Linked DNA regions of Homo sapiens: all the other regions are linked to region 4. The links are contacts of gene promoters, found by promoter capture Hi-C in blood cells and fetal thymus (Javierre and others, 2016). All regions are on one chromosome and are shown on one strand. The core of a region is centred on a gene start or on the middle of the fragment in contact, and the rest is flanking DNA. Distances in the headings are between cores, read along the strand shown. Region 1 has its middle 24 kb from the start of BMP3. Region 2 overlaps BMP3 (bone morphogenetic protein 3). Region 3 has its middle 44 kb from the start of BMP3. Region 4 holds the start of CFAP299 (cilia and flagella associated protein 299). Region 5 has its middle 45 kb from the start of BMP3.

Region 1 (4,766 bases), core at 1,999-4,498, 670 kb before region 4:
TTTATCTCTCTTAGGCCTCTGGGCCTGTGATGAGAGGGGCTGCCATCAAGGTCTCTGACATGCCCTGGAGACATTTTCCCATTGTCTTGCCCTTGTTACTTATGCAAATTTCTGCAGGGGGCTTGAATTTCTCCCCAGAAAAATGTTTTTTTTTTCTATCACATCACCAAGCTGCAAATTTTCCAAACATTTTTGCTCTGCTTCCTTTTGAACGCTTTGCTGCTTAGAAATTTCTTCCACCAGATACTCTAAATTATCTCTCTCAAGTTCAAAGTTCCACAGATCTCTAAGGCAGGGGCAAAATGCCACCAGTCTCTTTGCATAGCAAGAATGACCTTCACTCCAGTTCCCAATAAGTTTCTCATCTCCATCTGAGATGACCTCAACCCAGACTTTATTGTTCATATCAGTATCAGCAATTTGGTCAAAGCCTTTCAACAGGTTTCCAGGAAGTTCCAAACTTTCCCATATCTTCCTGTCTTCTGAGCCCTCCAAGTCAAGGAAGTTTCAACTTTCCCACATTTTCCTGCCTTCTTCTGAGCCCTCCAAATGATTCCAATCTCTTACTGTTACCCAGTTCCAAAGTCACGTCCACATTTTTGTGTATCTTTACAGCAGTGCCCCAATACCTGGTACCAATTTACTTTATTAGTCTGGTCTCACTCTACTATAAAGAACTGCCTGAGACTGGATAATTCATAAAGAAAAGAAGTTTAATTGACTCACAGTTCCACATAGCTGGGGAGGCCTCAGGAAACTTACAATCATGGAAGAAAGGGAAGCAAACATGTCCTTCTTCACATGGTAGCAGGAGAGAGAAATGAGTGCCCAGCTATGGGAGAAGTCCTTTATAAAACCATCAGATCTCATGAAAACTAACTCACTATCAGGAGAACAGGATGGGGGAAACCACCCCTATGATTCAATTATCTCCATCTGGTCCTTCCCATGACATGTGGGGATTATGGGAACTACAATTCAAGATGAAATTTGGGTGGGGACACAGCCAAATCATATCAGAGGAGTTAACTTATATTTCAAGGTCAAACAGCTAATAAATGGTACCATTAACACTGGAACTCAGACACTCAGGTTCCAGAACCTGTGTTCCTAATCCTTCTGTCACACTATTTGGAAAAATGAGTTAAGGCTAATGTCCTTACATGAGGCTAGGTTTGAATAATTATTCAACTAGCCATTTCCTAGCTGGATATCTTTGTGTGAATTATGTATGCTTTCTGAGTCTCTGTTTCCTTACTAAATATTAGTAATAATAACTGTAGTCAAAATTTTCATTCTTTGAAGACTCCGTGTTTGCAAATTCAACCTACTAGCTAAAATTTATTGGTATCCTCCAAATCAATACTGGGGCACTTTTGCAGTCATTCTTGAACATGCATGGAGTGAAAAAATGTGAGTCACCTAATCTGCACATTCCCAGCTGAGGATAAACAAGGCAACTCTGGCTTCTTATTTCAGTTCTCATACTAAAAAGAACTGTCCTTTCCACAGTCTACTGAGTGACATGTTTTTCACATTTTGTGTACTTTTGTTGGTAATTTCACTGTTTACGATGGTCCCCAAGCATGGGCTGAAGTACTGTCTAGTGTTCTTAAGCACAAGAAGGCTGTGGTGTGCCATATGGAGAAAGTACATATGTCATATAAGCTTCAATCAGCCATTACAGTAATGTGGGCCATTAGTTCAATGTAAATGAATCAATAATATAGATTATATAAGGTGTCTTTAAACAAAAACACACATAAAGCAAGGTTTTACATTGATTGGTTGATAAAATTATTGTGGCCAGAGGCTCCCAGGAACCTATTCTTATTTTTCCCTCAGGAGCAATGATTTAGTATTTGTTAATTCAGTGTTCATGGTGACTTTATAGATGTAACTATTTTGAATAATAAGAATTGCTTCTATTTCATAAGAGCATTGAATGGATTAATGAAGATCAGAAAATTGCAGTTTGATTGTTTTTTTTCTTTCAAGACTGCTGTATCATTCTAATTTAGAGATCATTTAGTGCAAATCCAACTATGTTGTTTCAATACATCATTTTTAAAAGGTATCCTTAAAAATACATGGTATAACCTACATCTTAAAGAAATTATAGTATTTTAAGAATTTTATAGTTGAAGGACATGTAATAAAAACTATTTCTTAATACATTTACTGTGAATTGTGGTATAGAATCAAGTAATTACCATTTCAAAAGACAAACTCTTACTGCTCCACTTCTAATAATTGATTGAAACAATGATAGATCAGTAAGCTTTTAAATGTCCCTACAATTGAACAGAATTCTTGAATTGTGCACTCAAAAAATTAAGATTATTAAGGGCTTTTCAGTAAAACAAACAAGAATTAACCATTGAAGAAAACTGTAAAAACTCATGTACATTGTAAAAATATTGAATTTATAGGCTGCTATCTAAACACGTCCTTTATTTGTCCACATTACTTAACTATCAATGTGGAAAATGTGATTCTTTCTCAACTCTTTTATGCTTTCATAAAATGTCTTATTAATGTATCCCAAAGACAGTAATTTCTACCATCCTCAACTCTCTTAATCTCTTCTCAAAATGTATATTTTATTCTTTGGAAGGAAATACTTTTGCATTTAAGATTTACAAGATTGGTTTCAAAAGACAACATTTAAATGCCAACCCAGTGGGATTTAGTGAGCTGATGGCGGCTCAGTTCTTTCTACTGGGAAAGTCATCCTTGGTGGATACATATGGCAAACTCCTGCTCAACCCTTGAGAAGGGGTTCAGATTTTACTCCCTTCATGAAATTTCCATAGCCAAAAGTAGCTTTCCTGTGTTCCTCAGTTGCACTCTTAATATACTGTGTTGTCTCATTTTTCACTATTATCACCTGAAGTTATTTTCTCTGTCTTCCCTACAGGGTCATGAATGGTTCCTAGCATGAAGAGGATGTTCAAGGAAGGCTTATTGAATGAATGAATGAATGAATGAATGTTACCTAAGTTCTCAGTTTTAGTGTGTGTTTAACCATAGCGTGTTGCCTTTCTTATCCAAGCCACATAACTAGTGTGTGGCATGTTGGCATTAGAGGAAAAAAAATGAAGATTTTCTCTTCTGTGAAAGGAGGTGAGTTCATGTCCTTATTGATTAAAAAAGAGGTCATTCTCAAATATGTTTTTTTCCTCCAACACTTACTTTTTTTAAGGAGTGATGAAGGGCATCTCCATCAATTGTAAAACAAACTGTTAGCTCTAATGCAGTGTGTGTTAACATTATGGATCTTACTGATGAATTTAAGATAAGTAACATTGAAGTCTAAGCCCCACTCTTGACCCCAGTGCCTGGAGAGCTGTGAGCATTCTGACATGTCTTATCAGTTACCTCAATTTAAGGAAAACTTAATGAACTTACTGATTTCTTGGTGTTATGTGATTCTTAGAATAATTTAGGTCACTTTTATTAGGAAATTGACCTCTATCATGTGGCCTTTCTTAACTAAATTTTTTGTGCTCCCTTCTTCCTCTCTTACTCTCTGCAATTGTCCCCAACTTTTGCCAGTTCTGACAAAGATCTGATCGCTTGTTTTATACTCTCATTGACACCACTCTAATTCATTTTCCTTTGTCCTCATAACTATGTTAATGCAGCAACTTCAAGAAATAGGTTTCCAACCTTCCAAATTCTTGATTCTCCCTCCCATCTATTTTGCACATAGCTAATGTATTCGTCTTTCTGCAGTATAAATTGCTTCTGCCTTTCCTCTGAGAAAAACACGTTTAATGATTCCTCATTGCCCATCTAATTAAGAATAAAAGGCTTGGGCAACTCAGGGAATGATCTTCCAGGGAGACTCCCAAATACTCTTGCATTTCTATGATCTGGCCAAAAAGTTTATGCTCTCTGTCCATTTTTGCTCACTGCTTTATCCTTAGGACACAAAATTGCATGTGGCACATTAGTAAGCACTTATACATAAGTTTTGGTTGAACAAATCAATTAAGAAAACTGATTTTAAATTCCCTTTGACTTGGTTTTATCTCTAAATGAAATACATAGTTCGATGATACTTCATGCAGACATACATGTAGTCACATACAAAGGCACTATGTATCTGTGGGAGACACGAAGCTATTAATTTAGTTCTAGCTCTGCTTTCCATCCAATCTACACATATTTAAGTTTCTTTAGCACTTTGCCTTTATACATTAAGCTTCCCAGAAATAGCAATGGTTTGTTGATGATTGATTTTGTCGTAGTCTATAAGCATATCTAGATGTTGTTTTTATTCATATTTCAGGATGTCTTAAAGTGAGGAAGTGATGAAACAATGGGACATGTGATTATTTGGCTTTTCCTCATTTCCTCCAGGCCCATTGCTAGCAAATCTTCAGTTTTCTTCTCTGCCATTATTCAGTGAGTAGGAAAGGTTAATGGGAAATCTCTTCAGTAAATATTACCTCAATTCAGTGATTTTTCTTTTCTATTGCATTTCCAGTGATACCACTTTTCTGCTCCATACTTGAGTTTTCTAAGCCTGCTTTATTTCTAACCCAACTTTTCACTACAAGGAGAGGGAATATCTGGTTCTTATCTCATCAGGTGCAGTGTTATTTTATATTGCTAAAGCAGCATAAACCAATTTTTACTATTTTTGCTTCTCTTGAGAAAACTTAAGGAAGCATAGATCAATTATTACCGTTTGCTGCCATTTACCATTATGCTGCCAATTGTTAAGGAGGCGTAGATCAATTTTTACCATTTTTACT
Region 2 (5,111 bases), core at 297-2,796, 720 kb before region 4:
AGGCAACTGAGGTGAAGTGCAAAAGAATAGGACAATTGGGGTGAGATTATCGCTGCTGGAATCCCAGCCCTGATGCTACTAGCATGGTTCTGACCTAAGGTGTGTCAGTTATTCTCCTGGGTCAGTAAAGTGAGGATAATACGCACCAATACTTCTCAGGGTCAAATGAGGACTCATTCATGGAAGTGTATAAAATGCATTTAAAAAAATCAAAAAGCAAATTTCGAAGAATATTTACTTTGTGCTATGAACATTTATAAGTGTTTCATGTATAAAGGCTCAAGTAATTTTCACAGCCCTGTAAGGCAGGCTCTGTGTTTTGTTCTCATTTTACACATGAGGACATGGAAACAGAAAGAAGCTTAATAACTTGTCCAAGGTCCTACAGTAAGTGACAGAGTTGAGATTCTAACGTAAATTGTCTGCCTGTAAGCCTGTATCTATGAAATACAATATGCATAAAAATAAACTTTCATATACCAGAAATACACATATATAATATTTTAGTCTATTTTCTACAATTCATTTGGCTTTGTTTTTCGTTAAGGTATTAGATGCCTTAGTTATTTGTTAAAATATAGTAAGACAAATAATATCACCTACTTTTTATTATTAAAGTAAGAGGAAGAATGCTGTAAATAAAATGTAGGTATGAAAAGTAGAAGAGTCTCACAAACCCCATCACATGATAGAAGTGAGATAGAATCAACAATCTCCTAAGTTGAGGGACGGATGATCTATTACCCTGGTCCTTTCTTGTGTTCTCTCTTTCCCTTCCATCGTGACTTTTGTTGTTGCTTTTTTTCCCAAGACATGATCAGGAGAAAAATATTTATAAGTTGTGATTTAATATGGATGTTTGACTCATGGATTCTGGTATACTAGAGCAAAAAGGAATTTTTAACCACCACCTGGAGAAAATTAGGACATGTAAGAGGTGAAGGAACTTAGGAAAGTGCTCAAGCCCAGAGCTTAGCATTGCCATAGATTCTGATGTTGCTTCAAATGCAATTGAAAAAAACAAATATAACCCAAATTAAAATTTAAATATCATATTGTGAGAACATCCACTTTTTGTGAACAAAAGAGTATGAAGGGAAGGCTCACGGGGTTCTCACATTTTGTATGTTGTGGATGTAAATATATATAACTCTGTAACATTGTGCTTTTCCTATGTGAATATATTTTCATTTTACTGGTTGATATTCACTTGTTAATAGTTACATATAGCTAACTTCCAGTTCTGAGACTGCAGACAATGTAGGCATTAATGCTTTATATCATCAAGCACATCTCTACCCACTAAAATAGAGTTTTGTATGATGTGAGCAATCCTTGGTAATACTAAGTGGATGTGTGCTCAACGTTCTTATTCTTAACCTTAATTCCCACCATACCTTCTAATAGCTACAAAGATCAATTCTAAGTGGTATTTCAAGACAATCCTCTGGCATGAGAACTGAGGCAACTCTTTTGAAAGTATTCATTAGTCACAAAACTGGCTACCCTGAAAGTATGATGATTCCATCAATATTCCTCAAAGGCATACATCACTCTGCTACTAACTGAAAGAACCAGAATTCAAACTCAAGGTGGTATTATCTCAAGGAAGATGCTCTCTCCATAATGTTACAAAGAATTCTAATACCAGTTTTTCCAGTTGCTAGTCTTATGCAATTGGGCATACTTACTCCAGTATATCATAGTCAATACTGTTTGGTTGCAAGTTACAGATATTGGCTTAAACCAGCATAAGTACAAGTGAGTAATTGTTGAGTTTTCAGGGATAGCCAGTGCAAACCAAGGACACAAAGTTCGATTTATGAGAAAAAGATACAGGAACTAAAATATCATCAGGAAACAGAGCAGCCACTCTTTTTACTATGCAAGGCCCAATGCTCTATCCCTGGCCAATTTATTCTTCTCTCTTCACAACTAGCTTTTACAACGTTTCCACATGCCTGCTAAAAATCACTGGAAGCCTCCATTGCCAGCCATGCTGCTAAATAACCTCTCAGCTTTACCAGCATTGGTCCAATTTTGTCATGTGTCAAGGAACCATTCCTGTTGGTGGGGGCCAGTTCCAAAGGGAGGCATGATGGGTAGACATCCAAACTTACAGTATAGCATGTCTACATTTCCTCACTGGAAAATGGGAAGACTACATTAGATAATAGTAAAAATAATAACAATTGATATTTACTAAGTCTTTATTCTGTTTTAGACACTTGGCTAAGTCATTCACATGTATTATCTCATTAAACCTTGTAACAACCCTAAGAAGCAGAAAGTTTATTGTCCCATTTTATAAGTAAGATAAATGAGGCACTGAGAAGTTAAGGAACTTGTTCAAGATGATCTTTAAAATTTCCTTGTAGTTCCAAAATGCAAACATACACAGTGTTACAAAGATGGATTAAAATAATAAAAATAATATAAAAGCATATTTTATTTCTTAATTTCAGGTCATTTTTTTTCCTTAAAGAAAAAACTATGGCCTAAACAAAAAATGGCTAGAATATATCTCAATGATAAGATTAATTAAATTTAGATAGTTATCATTCTAAAAGAACAGGACATGGTAAGAATGATAGATGAAATAAAGTTATTGTCAAAATAGTGAGTCAGACATCCAGAAAGAAACAAAAGTCTCCAACTATAAAATGTGGAGTTTTTGGTTAAAAAAGAAAAGAAAATATGAAACAATTTAAGTTGAGTTTCTCAAGCTTGAAAGATATATTTTTCCTGATGGGTATATTTCAATCTTGTTTTACAACGATAATCATGTTATGTTAAGAGTAAGTTACGATGCTCCATTTAGAATACCATTTGAAAATGTTCAACTCTATGCTTAAGCTTTATTACCTCTTTTAAATGCAGCACACTTGAAAATGTCTGGAAATATAGTATTTCCCAATAAGTAAAAATGAATGGTCAATGAAGCAATTTTTATTTCCATACTGTATAATGAATAGCTTTTCATTACTGAAAGAAAATGATACAAATTCAACAAAGCTTATACATTGGTAGTGAAGTATCCTTCACAGTTTCACTGCAATATACCCTCTAAGTGGATTTGACTAAAGAACCAAACTGCATTTTGCATCTAAAAACTGTAGTAAAAAGGAATTTTTCTTGCTAAAAGTATTATCATAATTAAGGATGAAAATTATTATTATAGGAAGGCAATAGTCATTAAATAAATTAAAAGCATCTTTGAACCTTTTCCATATACATATATTATATATATATATATATTTAAAATTGCCATTGACTGTACAAGTATTAAACATTTACAGAAACTGTGGAAAGCTGAAGGGAAGGACTGGCTTTTAGAAAACAAGGATCATTTTATCACTTATAAACTACATTAAAATACAACTCAGAGGAAAAAAGAGCTATACAGAAAAGTCCAACTTACCCAAGATTTCTTATTTAATCTCTTCTTTAATCTTACACATCAGGTGTGCATAGCTATGCCTAACCCAACTTTGATTCAATAAGAAGTCAATGCCCAGACATTAGTTACTTGTTAGCACAGAGAAAAGTGAAAGCAGAAAGACTAAACTGAAAAACTAAACTGAATGAATTATACAAATATTTTTAATAAATCAGACTCTTAGCAGTATTACTCACATTTGATTGCCTATGAAAATATTAAATGGGCAATAAGAGTTTTATTCAGAAATATTAAGGTAAAAAATCTTAACATATAAATGATCATCAGTTAATATACAGCAAAGGGAATGTAAAAATTTATCTGGAATGTTATAGTCCTGAGATCTGAGGAATCCAGTCTTCCAGTTTAAGTTCTACAATCCCAAATCCTGTAAATTGTATATTATTTACACAGGTTACAACAAAGTATTTTTAAAATATTCTAATTGACTTTGGCAGTCCCTTAATTTGAATTCAAGAGAACAGTTATTGAGAAAAAGAATTCTTTTTATCAAATAAAAAAATTAGCCAGGCATGGTGGCGGACACCTGTAATCCCAGCTACTCAGGAGGCTGAGGCAGGAGAACTGCTTGAACCTGGGAGGTGGAGGTTGCAGTGGGCCGAGATCACGCCACTGCACTCCAGCCTGGGCGACAAGAGTGAAACTCCATTTAAAAAAAAAAAGAAAAAGAATTATTTTTTTCAGTAACTGACTGTGTGTGTGTGTGTGTGCACACTGCATGGGGTAGAGAGATTACTTGTGGGGGAAGAGAGAGAGAGAGTATTATGCATGATTTAGCAAATGGAGTTTATAATTGTAGCTTCTCTTTTCATGAATGCCAATTTAATAATTTAATATCAGGAGATTTCTAAAGCTTCTGTGTAGGAATTATACAGAAACTAGTACCTAACAATTTGTAAAACAGGCACTTACTAAATTTTCTAACTACTCTTAGTAAATCTGTATTAATTAAAATATTAATACATTTACTTCAATCTCTACTACTGAAAGATAATCTTGCTTTATTCTTTGGGAATAAAACTCTTCCAATTTAAACCATAATACATCCTCAATTCATTAGTAAAATGATAGTTACAAAGCACCCAGAAAAACTGCTGGTTAAAACCTATTTCCATTGCTAAGAGATTACCCAAGTTCTTTCATTGTGTTGTAATTTTATATCAATTGCTACTTAAAATATAATCTTAACTAGTTAGTACCTGTAAATTTTATTATGTAGTGGGTTTTTGGCCATTGTGGGGTGCAATCTGTAATAACTAGGCATTGATTCAAATTAAGAAAGGTAATAAACAGGCATTTGGATATAAGAAGGCTAAGAAGTGATACTGGGAATTGCCAGAAGTTTTGGTTGATACAGCTCTAGAAAAAAACCTAAATTTAGAATTTCACCAAATCTACCAATGAAAAAGTTTTCTTTATTGAAAAACAGTACGATCAGGATGGTGGCCACACTCTGGCCCCCTTCTATCATATACTTTTATTTTCAAATGTTTGAGAACATGTATTAAAAAGTAATTTTATCCTCCATCTCACTTTGAATCTTTAATTTTATGCTACTGTAAGAACTAGAAGAAAGCATGGTAACTCAGGCACCAGAACTTCACTCATTTTTTTTAGAACTGGTGTGTCTCACTCACAGAATTAACACACA
Region 3 (5,103 bases), core at 196-2,695, 740 kb before region 4:
TTTTTTTTTTCTTTTGGAGCAGAGGAGGGATCTGTTTTACGGTTTTGAATGATCACTCTGGTGGCTATGCTAGGATGAAACATAGATTGAAGAATAAAGGAAGCAGGCAGTTGAATTACTTAATTCAGGGGAAAACTGATGGGGACTGGCTCACACTAGAGTGTCAAGTGGGTCATGGACAAAGAATACTGGGTAGACTGGAACTGTTTGGAGAGAGAGGTGACGAGATTGGATGTGAGAGTGAGGGAGAGAGAGGAAATAAGCAAGGATGATCCTTGGGGTTTTCAAAGTTCTAAGTTGGTAATTGAATGTACACAAGTATGTATGTATGTATATATGTGGGTGGGTGTGTGCCTGTGTATGTGTGTGTAAAATATCCTTTCTTCTAGTAATGTTTGCGGACTGTGGTCTCAGTTATTTTTCAAGTAGAGTTGCAGATATTGGTGATTACAACTGTATGAGGTAAAATAAAAAGAAAGGAGAATCACATTTTAAGTACTTCTGTGACACAGTGTGCTAAGTACTTTATATATGTTATCTCACTTGAAATTTTTGCCTCCATTTTATGTAGTTATTATTATTACCACATATTGGGTTGGTGCAAAACTAATTGCGGTTTTTTGTCATTACTTTCAATGGCAAAAACTGCAATTACTTTTGCAGCAACTTAATAATAGATGTGGAAGTTTGACCCAGGTTGGAAAATAAATTAGCACACTTCAAAGACTTATTCAACTAATATTTTTAAAGGACCTACTGTGTGCATGATATTTATTGTTGTTACTCAGAATGGGTAACATCATTTCCATCACTATGACCATTTATGGGGAATAAAAGAGTTTTAAATTCCCATTTTTGTGTGGTATATTTTCGGAGTCAAAACTGCTTTAAACAAAAGACCTTGCATTTCATGCACTAACTATAATATGTAATAGCTATGGTCAAAAATATTCTCCAGTATGCATCATACTGGGGTATCAGTCAAAATACCTATATTATGTACAAGCAGTGCTGTTAAGATTTTAGGTGATGGAATGTGATCAGAGTGGGAGAGTTTTGAACTTACTTAGCTTTTTATCTCTCTTCATTCAAAGTTCAATTTCTGCTACCTTTCAAGTTTAACAGAATTGGGAATACTAGCTCTTTCTTTTTGTCCTTTAGCCTATTTTTATTTAATTTTTTCTTACATTGAAATTCAACATTCACTCAATAAACATGTTTGAGCACCTATAGTACATACAATAATCCATAGAGCAACTGAAATCAAATACCACAAATAATTTCTTGGTTATGGTTGTGATTTCATATTACATATCAATGACTTGGCCTTGGTTCAGTACACTTTTTATATTACAGGGGAATATTGGATATCATATAAAAAGAATCATTGTTTAATATTAAGGGGAATATAACAAAATTTAAACTTCATGGTTGCTACAAATGTTAAATATATTTGCATACAAAAAGAGAGAAAAGACCAAAAGAAAATAACAAAAAAAAATGTTGACCTCTGAGTTGCGGAATAATAGATTCTTTTCCATGCTTCCTACCTTCTCAATATTTCTCTAAATTTTTGAAAACATATGCAATAAAAATTTTGGTCATGAACAATATTTCTTTTTTTTTTTTTGTGGTAAGAACACTTAACCTGAGATCTACCCTCTCAAGTTGTTAAGTGCATAATACAGCAATGTTAACTATAGGCACCTTGTTGCACAGCAGATCTCTAGAAGGTATTCATCTTGCAAAACTGAGACTTTATATTTGTTGAATAACAACTACTCATTTCCCCCTTGCCCCAGCCCATGTAACCACCATTCTACTGTTTCTTTGAGTTCGACTATTTTAGATACTTCCTATGAGTGGAACCATGCAGTTTTTGTCCATCTGTGACTGTCTTATTTAACTTACCATACTGTCTTCCAGATTCATCAGTGTTGTCACATGTAGCAAACTTTTCTTCTTTTATAAGGCTGAATAATTTTCCATTATATGTACATACCACATTTTCTTCATCCATGCATTCCTCAATAGAAATTTAGGTTGTTTCCCTATCTTGGCTATTGTGAATAATGCTGCAAGGAACATGGAAATGGAGATATCTCTTTCAGATCCTGATTTTAATTCTTTTGGATACATATCTGGAAGGGGGATTGCTGGATCATATAGTAGTTCTATTTTTATTTTTATTTTAGAAAACTCTATACTGTTTTTCATAGCAATGGCACCATTTTACATTCCCAACAACAGTATACAAAGGTTCAAATTTCTCCACATCCTCAGCAACAATGGTTATTATTATTTTTTGATAATAGCCATCCTAACAGGTATGAGGTGATTTCTCATTGTGGTTTTGACTTGCATTTCTCTGATGATTAGTGATGCTGAGCATCTTTTCATATACCTGTTAGCCATTTGTACATCTTCCTTAGAGAAATATCTATTCCAGTCTTGCCCACTTTTCATTGTTTTTTTTTTCCTATTGAGTTGTAGGATTCAAATAAACAAAATCAGAAATAAAAAAAGTGGACATTACAATTCATGACACAGAAATAAAAAGGTCCATAAAAACTACTATAAACAATTATGCACCAACAAACTGGTAATCTAGAAGAAACAGATAAATTCCTAGACTCATACAGCTTACCGGGACTGAACCATGAAGAAACAGAAAATATGAACAGACTAATAAGCAAGGAGATTGAATCAGCAATCAAAACTTCCAAGCAAAGAAAAACACAGAACCACATGTCTTCACTGGTGATTCTACCACACATTTAAAGAAGAGCAAACACCAATCTTTTCCAACTACTCCAAAATGATTGAAGAAAAGTGAACATTTACAAACGTATTTTGAGTCCATCTGATACCAAAGCCACACAAAAATCTCACAAGAAAAGATAATTACAGGCACAAATGTCCTTGATTAACAAAAATCCTCAACAGACTACTAGCACATCAAATTCGACAGTACTTTAAAAGGACCATACAGCATGACTAGGACAATACATCATGTACCACACATCATGGGATTCATCTTTGGGGTGCAAGGATGGCATGACATGTGAATCAATTAATGTGAAACATTACATTAACAGAATGAAGAATAAAAATCACATGATCATTTTAATGATGCAGAAAAAGCGTTTGACAAAACGTAATAGTCTTTCAGTATAAAAACTCAAAAAACTAGAGGTAAAAGGAATTTACCTCTACATAATAAAGGTCACATATGATAAACTCACAGCTCACATTATAGCAGATGATTAAAAAACTGAAAGTTTTCCTCTAAGATTAGGAAAAAGATGAAGAGTCTCACCTTCACCACTTCTATTCAATATAGTATTGGAAGTACTAGCCAGATCATTTAGGCAAGAAAAATAAATGAAAGGCACCTAAATTGAAATGGAATAAGTAAAATTGTCTCTGTACATGACTTGATCTCATATAGAAAAGCTTAAAGACTCTACAAAACAAACAAAACAAAACAAAAAACCAAAAAACCTGTTAGAAGTAATTTAAAAAGTAAGTATAATTGTAATATACAAAATCAAGATATAAAAATCAGTTGTGTGTTTATACACTAATAACAAACTCTCTGAAAAGGCAATTAAGAAAACAATCTTATTTATAAAAGCATTGAAAAGATAAAAATATTTAGGAATACATTTCACCAATGAGATGAAAGATTTGTACACTGAAAAAATATAAAACATTGATGAAAGAAATGGAAGAAGATATAAATGAATAGAAAGGCATTCGACGTAAATGGATTAGAAGATTTAATAGTGTCAAAATGTCCATACTAGCCAAAACAATCTACAGATTCGATGTAGTCCCTATCAAAATCCAATGGCATTATTTGCAGAAATAGAAAAAAAAATTCTAAAATTTATATGTAACTACAAAAGATCTTGAATAGCCAAAGTAATCTTGAGAAAGAAAAGCAAACCTAAAGGCATCACACTTTCTGATTTCAAGATCTATTACAATGCTACAATGATTAAAACAGTACAATATTAACATAAAACAGACATATTGACCAATGGAACAGAACAAAGAGCCCACAAATAAAACCATACGTAAAAGATTAACTGATTTCTGACATGCTTGACAAGGGTACCAAGCATGAACAATGGGGAAGAATAGTCTCCTCAACAAATGATGTTGAGAAAACTGGATATCCACATTGAAAAGAATAAAACCGGATATACGGAAACAAATTAGATATCCATATAAGCCATTCTGAGAAATCAGACTACTAGGAAAATCCTATTAAATGTAAGCCAGACAATCATATCACTTCTCTCTACAAAATCCTGTGATGACTTCCCATCTCACTCAAGAGGAAAAGCCAAAATAATTCATAACCAATAGCCTAACCCATTCCATTTCCATCTCTGTTACCTGTCTGACTTGATGTCCTACTTTTCTCTCTCACTCACTCCATTCCAATCACATTGGCCCCCTTGCTCTTCCTCAAACATGGCAGGTATACTCTCAACCCAGGGTCTTTGCACGCACTTCTTTCTCTTCCAGGAATTTAAGTATTTACCTGCATGTATTTACCTCTCTTTATGTTTTGACTCAAATCTAACCGTCTTAGTGTGTTTTTTCTTGATGACTTATTTAAAATTGCAACCCCTCTAGTACTCTTTATCCTTCTTCTCCTTGTTACTTTTTTGATAGCATGTTTGACTCTCTAATATAATATAATGTACATTTTATATATTTATCTACACATTTTTCTTATTTTCTGTCTCCCTCCAGTAGAGTATTACTTTGATAAGGACAGGGTGCTGTCTCCCTGGTGTGTAGAAAAATGCTTCACATATCTTGGGCAATTAACAAATATTCTTGGATGAATGAATGAATTTTAGGTGAGGTAACTGAACCTAGAAGAGTTAAACAACTTCACCCAGTGTTAGCAAACTTCATCGTAGCCTCCATCTTCTGATTCTATTGCCCAATATATCTTTTCAGCATGCTGCTTTACTCTTATAATATCTACATACTAAATTAAATTTGAAATTTTTTTGGTTGTCTGCTACTTATAAATGCTTATAAATAAATAGATTTGTTTTCTTATACAAAGACCACAGA
Region 4 (4,573 bases), core at 645-3,144:
GAGTTCGAGACCAGCCTGGCCAACATGGTGAAACCCTGTCTCTGCTAAAAATACAAAAATTAGCTGGGTATGGTGGTGCAGACCTGTAATCCCAGAAACTTGGGAGGCTGAGGCAAGAGAATCACTTGAACCTGGGGAGCGGAGGTTGCAGTGAGCCGAGATGGGGCCACTGCACTCTGGCCTGGGCCACAGAGTGAAACTCTATCTCAAAAAAAAAAAAAAAAATTCTGATTGATGAAACACAAATTATTAATTTCACATCTGTAATTAATATTAATGTTTTAGGTCCATACTCACATGAAGAACTGTGCCTTAAAAAATATTAAAACCTTTCTTAATAATACTAGGTTTAAATTTGCCAATCTTCCACATATGCTACAAAGATGATTTTAGTCTATCAAGATGTTTATAGCGTATATTTCATTTTTTGTTTATTTAAACATTCAAAAATTTAGATGTAAACATTGTTTAGCAGCATTACTTTTTCAGTGTCTTGGATGCAAGGCATAAACTGACTTTTATGACTTTAAATATATTATCTGTATAATGTTTTAAAATTTTGCTTTTGAAGCCAGGAGCTATATTGGAAATACCACCTACATTTATTTTTTAAATGTACTGAAGAATAACACTTTTGAAACCTGTAATCCATATTTAAGTGAAATGCCTCTGTAACCAATCTTTGAAGTCCAAAAGTGTCAATCCACTAAAATGCAGTTACCTTGTTGCAGTTCAGAAGTGTGGGGAGCTGGTGGCAGGATGCAAATCCTTCCCAGACTGATGTGGCTTTTCACCACATAGTGGCGCCTGTTCTCTCTGGCCTAAATAGGGATAAGGCATTTCTGGGTCCTGTGGAGAGCACGGCCGACTCTCCAGGTGAGTGTCCATTCAGTGGGCCTATCCGGGAAGTTTGGCTAGGAATATACTGGGACTTTAGGAGCCATCGTCCGCCTCCCAGCTTCCTAGCACTGATGACTTGTTAATTCCTGCGCGTCCGGGTTCTCCCGTGGCACAGGACAAGAACTCCACTCTGTCCCCCACCACCCTGCAGCGGGGGTAGCTGGGGAGGGGATTGGCTGTTGGGCAGAGGAAAGCAACCCATTAGGTCCAGTTTCGCTCCTTTTTTGTGTGTATATTTTTACTATCAAAGTTAGTTGTGATCATCAACTCGATAAACTTGAATCAGGAATATGTCTGCACAACTACCTGTAATGCGTCTCTGTAATTAAAGTACTTTCAGAATCAATTAGTGTGAGGTGGAAGTTCATGAACCCAAACGCCCAATATAACACCAAATACACTAGGTTGGTGTAAAGATGCCATCTTCTGTTCTTTAATATACCAATTGGCAAAGCAGAGAGAAACAGGTGTCTGTCCTAGATCACAGCCGGAGACTTCTCAGCAGACCTCCTTCCTCACAGAGAGCGGCTTTGGAATGGGAGTGGGCTGGGAGGAGGCAGGGGAGGCCAAGAAGCACAAATTCATGGCTCCCCAGTGTGAGTGTGCCCGCGCGTTTCTGCGCTGGGTGACTCTAGGGGCCCAAGTTCTGTCCGGACCGGGGAGCGCGGGGCGGTAAGGACGCGGCAATTCACCTCGCCAGCGGCTTTAGTGTCGCGGTCCCGAAACCGCGGCGCCTGACAGCTGAGCTGTCCAGCGCCAGGGGGCGACCAGCCCACGAAGCGGGAACTCGAGGAGGGACCGAGGGACGCGCGGCGGCGGCTACTCTGCCGCGCTCCGCCCTTACCTCCAGGTAGTACAAGTCCACAGTAGTGATCTGCGAGTCCAGGAAATCTTCATAGGCGTTGAATTGAGTGACAATATTGTCCAAGGCCTTCAGCCCCTCTTCCTGATCCATTGCGGTATCCTCGGCCGAAGCGTCCCTAGCAACGGAAGCAGGAGGGCAGGGTCAGGAGGCTCCACCCACTTCGTTCCTGCCAATCAGTTGAAGCCGGTGTGAGCTTTGGACGTTAATCCCACCCCCCGGCGGTTTGTTGCAGTTTCTGTCTTCTGCCTCACTCCTGTGAAAACTTTCTGGAATTACCCACCCAAGTTCAGGTCGGATACCCATCCACCGACTCAGGCTTCAGTGAACTGTTGAGCAACCAGAGAGGTGCAAACTGCAATCCAAAGTTAAAAAGTATGACACTGCCTACATACTTAGACAAAATATTAGGAATTAGCTCCCAATTGCATTCTAAAACAATGTTATGCAAGACAAAAATACCGAGACATTTTGCAAAAAGACTGTCTCAAAAACAAGTATATCAAATGGTGTTGTGACAACGACAATAATAAAATAATGATTTTGTTAAATTATTTTTAAAGTTATAACAAAGGTAAATTATTGCTAATGTTTGTGTACAAGAAGCAATTTATGAAATTCCCAAAGGAAAGAAACTCAGTCAAAAAAATGTCTTTGCAGACCTTTTTTGGCACCAAGTTCTTGCACTTATTTTACTATTTTAGCACAGTGAAAAATTTTGCTGTGTTGAAGCTGCCCTTTTTAAAGAATAAAATATCTGTGAAATCTTATTAAATAAAGTCTTTCACTAAAGATTTTTTGTTTTCTTCAGAACAGTATTGTGTTTTTAAAATATGAATTTAAAGTAATCCAACACAACAGCTGGCAAAATATGTTCAGAACCAATCTTTGGATTTTAATATTTTACAAACCATCCTTGGGAATTAGCATATAATACAATGCTAAGCCTTTAATTGTTGCTCTGTAAGTACGTTTCTAATTCATCTTGAAGATTTTCACAGATTTGCTAACAAAATTTTAATGAAAACATCTGGTAAGATACTTCATTTCAGTTAGCTTTCCTAATTTAAAAAGTTCATCTTAAAAATTAGGATGTCATGACTTGCAAATTTTAAGTGATATAGACACAATATTTAGGATGCTACTAACTTGTTTTTTTGTTTGTTTAATGAATGTATTCTGACATGTTTTTAAAGATATTTTGGGCCTTATTTTTGAATGCAATTTAATTATTGAATTTGGGAAAACAAAAAGGAGATAAAACCTTGGACACTGGTAACCCATCAAAAGTAATAATAGGCCAGGTACAGTGACTCCCAGCACTTTGGGAGGCCGAGGTGGGTGGATCACGAGGTCAGGAGTTCAAGACCAGACTGGCCAACATGGTGAAATTCCGTCTCTACTAAAATTACAAAAATTAGCTAGGCATGATGGTGGGCGCCTGTAATCCCAGCTACTCAGGAAGCTGAGGCAGAAGAATCCTCCTATATCAAGATTTCATCACTTTTAAGAAACAGTAAAGCATCTAGAGAATGTTTGGGTTTATTAAACTAGAGCACTTTAATGAAAAGGACCTATATGTTAGTAAAATGTGAGGTCATGGTTTGGCTATATATTGTTCTATTATATCAATTGTGATTGTGCATTTTTTAGAGAAACCTCATTAAATTTGCCATTTGGTCAACATCTCTTTGATGAAGTAATCTCTACAGCATCTAAATTTAAACAATCATGAAATTATTTTCAGTCAATGAGTCTAGAAATGTCTTCTAACTCAAAACACTGAGGCTGATTTTCAGCAAATCAGCTTCTCTATTAATATCAAGAAAATTCATAAACTTATCCTTGTTCCTCACAGTAAGGCTAGAATTAATAGTGCGTATAACTCAATTGTCCTTTTCTAAACTTTCAATTTAACTTCAGAACCACTTTCAGACCTGTGCCTGAGAAATGAAAGGGTGGCAACAAAGAAATTAGTAAGTTTCGGCAAGCTTCTCTTTTCATTGCAAGGCTTTTGTTATGATCAAGAAATACTTTATTTTGGATAACATGCATTCCTACTTCAAGTCCAAGATTTTTAAAGACTGAAACCTGGAATTTAGCACCGATCCCAGAAATTCCATTCTTTGCAAAAGGACAAAGAAGGATTAGTATATTCATAATAAAACCCCAAGATGTAGGAAAGAGGAAACATATGTTATGTAAGAATAACAAAATATATGCCAGATTTAAGGTACTTACTTGGTGGAAGTATATTAAAAAGTTTCAAATTAAGCTCTACACTTTTATATTCCAAAATATTTGGCAATATACTATGATAGCTGACACAGTGAAAGGAAAACATACTTTGGTTTGTTGACATGACAGGAAGGGAATGTTTTGCTTATGTTAATAAGAACTTGAGGATCTATTAAGACGTTCTATTAATATGTTATCATATTGTAGGAAAAAAACATATACTTACTCTAATAGGACAAGAGATTTGTGTCTGGTGTTGCCTAGCTGCTTGTTAACTATGACTGCAGATGAGGGCTATTGCTTAATCATCAGCCAAGGAGAGCTTTTTTGCACTTAGAAACAATGGTGATACTAAATTTACTTGAGCTATTTCTCGTGATGAGATCGCTGGACTTCCTCACAGTCTCAGTTATTCTAGGATGCTGGAGTTCTGGTTCCACTGCTTCTCTGTCCTGGAGACACAATGTGTTCATGTGTCATAATCCGGGAGTTTGCTCCTGCCTTGTCATTGACAGTGTGAAAGGAAAATTTCAGAAGAGAGAAATACAAGTATAAGATGGAATTCCTCCCAGG
Region 5 (4,713 bases), core at 1,510-4,009, 650 kb before region 4:
TTGCTGAAGTCGTATGCTGAATCTAACTACAGATGATAAGAAAAAAAACAAACAAACAAACCAAAAAAATAACAACAGATACTAGGCAGGTTGGGACAAGAAAAAAAAAAGATAGATATTTGGAATAAGATATGAAACAGGAAAAATAGAAGAAAAAATGGAAGGATGTCGGGAGAAGAAAAAGTCACATACGGATTTTCAGATCACTACTCTGGTATCCACCTCGCCCTCTTTCACATCCATAGATCACATAATACATTTATTGTTTCTGCCCTGTGTTTCCAGAGAATATTGTATCTCTCCAATTACTACACTCATCATGTTTTAATTACTATTTAGTCATTTTCCCTGTTATTTAGTAAGCCTCATGGAGGTTGTGTTATCTTTTCATACCTTTGAGCCTGTTACATAATATGTGCTCACTAGATATGTTTTGAACACATTAATTAATAAATAGGGAACAGTATGATATCTCAGACTGCTTGGTTACTACTAAGTTTTGCCCACACCTATTTTATGGGCAAGAAATCTTGAAGCTGGACAATTCACAACTGCAGAGACATGGAATCAATCTAAGTGCCTCTCAATCAATGAGTGGATAAAGAAAATGTGATATAAGTATACCATGGAGTATTACTCGACCATGAACAAGAATGAAATAATGTCTTTTGCAGCAACTTGGATGTAACTGGAAGCCATTATTCCTGAAGTAACTCAGGAATGGAAAACCAAATACTTCATGTTCTCACTTATAAGTGGGAGCTAAGTTATGAGGAAGCAGAGTGGTAAGACATTGGAGACTCAGAGAGGAGAGAGTGGAAGAGGGGTAGGGGATGAAATATAATACTATCTACTGGGTACAATATACACTATTTGGGTGACAGGTACACTAAACCCTTGGACTTCACCACTATGCAATTCATCTGTGTCATCAAAAGCCACTTGTATTGCTAAAGCTAGTGGAATAAAAATAAATAAGTAATAGGACAACACAACAAAAATGAAATCTTGAAGCTGGAAGGATGGCTTGAAAGTGAATTTAAAATGTTTGGATCCTTAAAGAGCTGCTTATTGGGACTGACTAAATATTTGCATCATTAGAATGTGATGTATATTAAACTCCTTTAATGAACAGACAGGATAAATTCCTCATTATTGAATTTTGGAATTTTCTGAATAATCACTGATTGTACTCTGTTTCTTTATGGTAGAGTTTTAATTTTACATAATTGAACATGACTCATGATGTACTCATATTAGAAAGTGAGTCTATTTCATAATACTGAATCTCTTTGGCAGTGGAAAGCTTATTTCTTCTTTATTAATTTGATTAGGAAGCCCCCGACTATTCTTCTATAATAATAATGGCTCTAATGTTTTTGATCTGTGTCTGAGGTCATTTATACTGCAAGAGCTTTTATGCATATTTTCTAATTTTTCACTTCCTGAGTTTTAGGACATCTATTAAAATATTATGTAATTAAATTTAAGAAAAGGGAAGGAAAAACGTGTCTCCCTGGGGAGAAAAATAATTTCCTTAATTGAGTTTTTAAAAATAAATACTTGAATTTTATAGAACCCTAGAACAATTCTTTAAGGGCTTCTTCCTCTTCCTACTAGTTAAATCTTACTTAAGCTGGAAAACAGGTGCGTGTTTTTAGACCAAAGAAAAATCATAAAATGCAAATATTCAACTAATTCTATGTGCTAATATTTTTGACTAAACATGTAATATGGATAATGTTATGAACATCAAACTCAAACATGTAGCTGTTTTGTTTTTCTAAAGCTTAGGCCATCTTTAACATTCCTGAGTTTCTGAGACACTAATCATATTTATCTGCTGAATAGTCCCGAAGTGTTTCTAGCTAATGAATAAGTTTTTAAATTAGAAGAAGTCTGAATTGATAAAAGCTGGATGTATTTGTCCATGTGTGTTTATGTGTCTTACTCTTTGACAATACATTTTGAATGACTAGAATGCTCTTCAATGGTCATTTTGATTGTGTATATTAACATGGCTCTCTCTACGTGGAGGCAGGGTGATTGCTAGGCTAGGATAGAGTCTGGGACTTCTAAAGAGAAAGCAACATTTTATAAATAAGATTATTTGGTTTAGTGTATTTTCTTTTATATGATGTATCAAATTTGGTCTTGTGTTATTTCTTTTTTTTTCTCTTCTCCTTCTCCACTTCCCACCCTTCTTTCTTCTTTTTGCCATCTCCAAGAATTTAGTAAAGTATTTTAATACTGCAATTTTACTGCTGTCTACATGTATTTAGTCAAGTCTGTTTAATGAGTTGGCTTATTCCCAACCAGGCTAAGAGCAACCAAGGGAAGTCATGAATGCACACTGAGTTGACATGGATAAGGAGAGAGCAGTATCCCTTGAGGCTGCTGAACTCAAGCAGCCATAATTGACAACCATTTTCCCATATGAAGGGTTAATCTCAGGAGAATAAAAACCAAGGCTACAATTCCTAGTCACTGCTTTCCCTGGGATGAGTCTTTTTGTATCTTCAGCCTTGAAAAATTTTAGTTTATATTTAGGAAATAGAGACAGTAGTCCCATAGCCAGGTACTGAGCTAACAGTTGGAGCATATATAAAGAAGAACAAAGTATGGTACCCAAATTTAAGGAATTTGAAATAAGAAAAAATATGAATATTTGTATTATGTTATAATTTACAAGGCACTTTACCACATAATTTTGTATGGATTATGTGATTACTATCTGAATTTTACAAATGAAGACATCTTTTGTCCTGGGTGATAAAGGTAGAAGGCAACAGGTAACAGTCTGGGTGATAGAGGTAGAAGAAATTCGTTGTTTTGTTCTAACTTCACAGAAAATGTTCTTTAAACTATTGTATCATGTAGTGTTTTCTTTTTGTCTTTTCCTTAAAATTTCCAATTTATGAAATATTTAAATAGACACAAAGTTCAGGAAACTTTATGTATACATATACATATATATACATGCTACTACAAAGAAAAAGAAAATGTTAATTTTCCCCCTATATTTGTTTCAGGCTTTTTTTTCAAAAACCCTTGTTTTTGAAAAAATACATTTACATTGTTCAAAAACCTAAATAATATAAACAAATATACACTCGAAAGCATTGTTCTAACTTCCCTCTACATCATACTCACATGCTATAGGTAAGCACTTCTATTCGCTCCTGTTTTCTTGGTTTCTTGTTCCAGCAAAGAACATCTACTAACATCTTAATGGCAGGGCTACACTGATTACAAATACAAACAGATCTTGGACATTACACTGTGAGACAGATAATAAAGAGACATACAAATAATGAAATTATTACAAATTGCAATAACTTCCTTGAACAGAATAATGGATTCTGAGAGGTCAGTAGCTCCCAAATCTGAATCAGCACCTGCGCCATCACTTAAAAAATATAATATGATCATACACTCACACTACAATGGTAAACTACATACTATGGAAAATCGTGAAGTAAAAAGAACATATATCCCCCAAATGCTTTTCTCCTGAGGTTGTGTGAATATGTACTGCTCAAGATATTTTATAAATAAATTCAAATATATATATACTAAAATGTTAAATATGACTTTTTCTTGTTTGCTCAGAATTTCTGCCAAGGTGCCAAAAGCCTAGAACAATACAATAGGTGCAAACTATGCCCCACATCATAAAGCATGGTACTCGATTTTCTATTCAGTGTGTACAAAAGCCATAAAGCTTTTTGGCTCCATTGGCCCTTTACCCATCATGGGCTACAAAAAAGAAATTTGGGGAGAATAACATTTTTGGAGGGGTGTTTTTCTGCTTTATGGATTTCTTTCCCCATTGAGAGGAACTTGGGGGATTGTTCTTCTTTGTATTAGCCCAAGTGAGAAAGGATGTTTCAAGAAAATTACTTTTCAAGAGAGTTACAATTATGTTGTCTGGAGTTTGGAAGACACAAGGATCAGTAGCTGACTCCTGTCTGCAAAATCAAGGGCAAGAGAATCTTGAGGGACAGAGCACATAGAGGGCTGCAAGTGCCTATTTTCTGAGAACAAAGACTAGAGGGGAGGGCAAATGCGGGTGAGAGAGGAGGCAGCCTATCAGGGATCATTTTAAAAGGAATCTTACCTAAGAGGCAGTCAGGAGGTGCTTATAACCCCAACTGAAGCTTGGACCCTCTGAGTCCCATGACTGGAGGAATGACCTAAACAGTCAGCCAGAGGAGTATGAGAAAGAGCACAGCAAGGGTGCATCCATCACAGTTGGGGAACCAACGCTAGGTTACAACTTCATCGGCCACCCAAGGCTATGTCCTTTCTCCCTAATCTCCTCTCCTTGCAGCCAAACCCTAGAAAGATAAGAAACAGCAACTATCAAGCAGGAGAGGTGTACTATAACAGCAAGAAAGAGTATACAAGAAACTATATTCTCCCTTATTCTAGGCTTCCAAGTTTGAAGCTAGCCATGGTCTTGGGGCTCGGGGAAGTGGGAGTTATCAAAAGTTTTTCACCAACATCTTATTTATGTTATAGTCATACTTATAGCTTGGTGTACAAATATTAGGGAGGGGTAGTTTTAAATCAATTTTTTTTTTATTATTATCCTTGACTAGTGTTGGTAAACTGAATCTTTCCCTCCAAACTCAGGTTTTTAGTGTTTGCCAATTTTCATGGTGTAAATACCCCCACCACAGTCCATATCAAGCTACCAAAGTTTTAACA

What was found. Contacts are between HindIII fragments. The CHiCAGO score rates a contact against its expected background, and 5 or more counts as called.
Region 1: a fragment that was not itself captured here is called in contact with the fragment with the promoter of CFAP299 in region 4 in 5 of 17 cell types (total CD4 T cells, non-activated CD4 T cells, naive CD8 T cells and 2 more); the score reaches 7.5 in total CD4 T cells.
Region 2: a fragment that was not itself captured here is called in contact with the fragment with the promoter of CFAP299 in region 4 in 7 of 17 cell types (naive CD4 T cells, total B cells, naive CD8 T cells and 4 more); the score reaches 11.1 in naive CD4 T cells.
Region 3: a contact is called between a fragment that was not itself captured here and the fragment with the promoter of CFAP299 in region 4, in 4 of 17 cell types (M2 macrophages, total B cells, naive CD4 T cells and 1 more). The highest score is 7.8, in M2 macrophages.
Region 5: a contact is called between a fragment that was not itself captured here and the fragment with the promoter of CFAP299 in region 4, in 4 of 17 cell types (naive CD8 T cells, activated CD4 T cells, fetal thymus and 1 more). The highest score is 8.6, in naive CD8 T cells.

What each region holds. Positions count from the first base shown.
Region 1 is chr4:81,004,287-81,009,052 of GRCh38, reverse strand. No RefSeq gene overlaps it. Among named protein-coding and RNA genes, the nearest start is that of BMP3, 24 kb to the left of the region's middle. The HindIII fragment of the contact is 1,929 bases long and covers 2,284-4,212 here.
Region 2 is chr4:81,055,355-81,060,465 of GRCh38, reverse strand. It overlaps BMP3 (bone morphogenetic protein 3), which reads right to left. Exons shown (of 3, transcript NM_001201.5): 3 at 2,839-5,111. Among named protein-coding and RNA genes, the nearest start is that of BMP3, 27 kb to the right of the region's middle. The HindIII fragment of the contact is 2,365 bases long and covers 364-2,728 here.
Region 3 is chr4:81,072,042-81,077,144 of GRCh38, reverse strand. No RefSeq gene overlaps it. Among named protein-coding and RNA genes, the nearest start is that of BMP3, 44 kb to the right of the region's middle. The HindIII fragment of the contact is 4,027 bases long and covers 1-3,458 here.
Region 4 is chr4:80,333,051-80,337,623 of GRCh38, reverse strand. CFAP299 (cilia and flagella associated protein 299) reads right to left here and starts at 1,894. Exons shown (of 6, transcript NM_152770.3): 1 at 1,745-1,894. The coding sequence starts at 1,855. RefSeq lists an enhancer at 1,753-1,902. The HindIII fragment of the contact is 3,926 bases long and covers 1-3,755 here.
Region 5 is chr4:80,983,837-80,988,549 of GRCh38, reverse strand. No RefSeq gene overlaps it. Among named protein-coding and RNA genes, the nearest start is that of BMP3, 45 kb to the left of the region's middle. The HindIII fragment of the contact is 1,935 bases long and covers 1,792-3,726 here.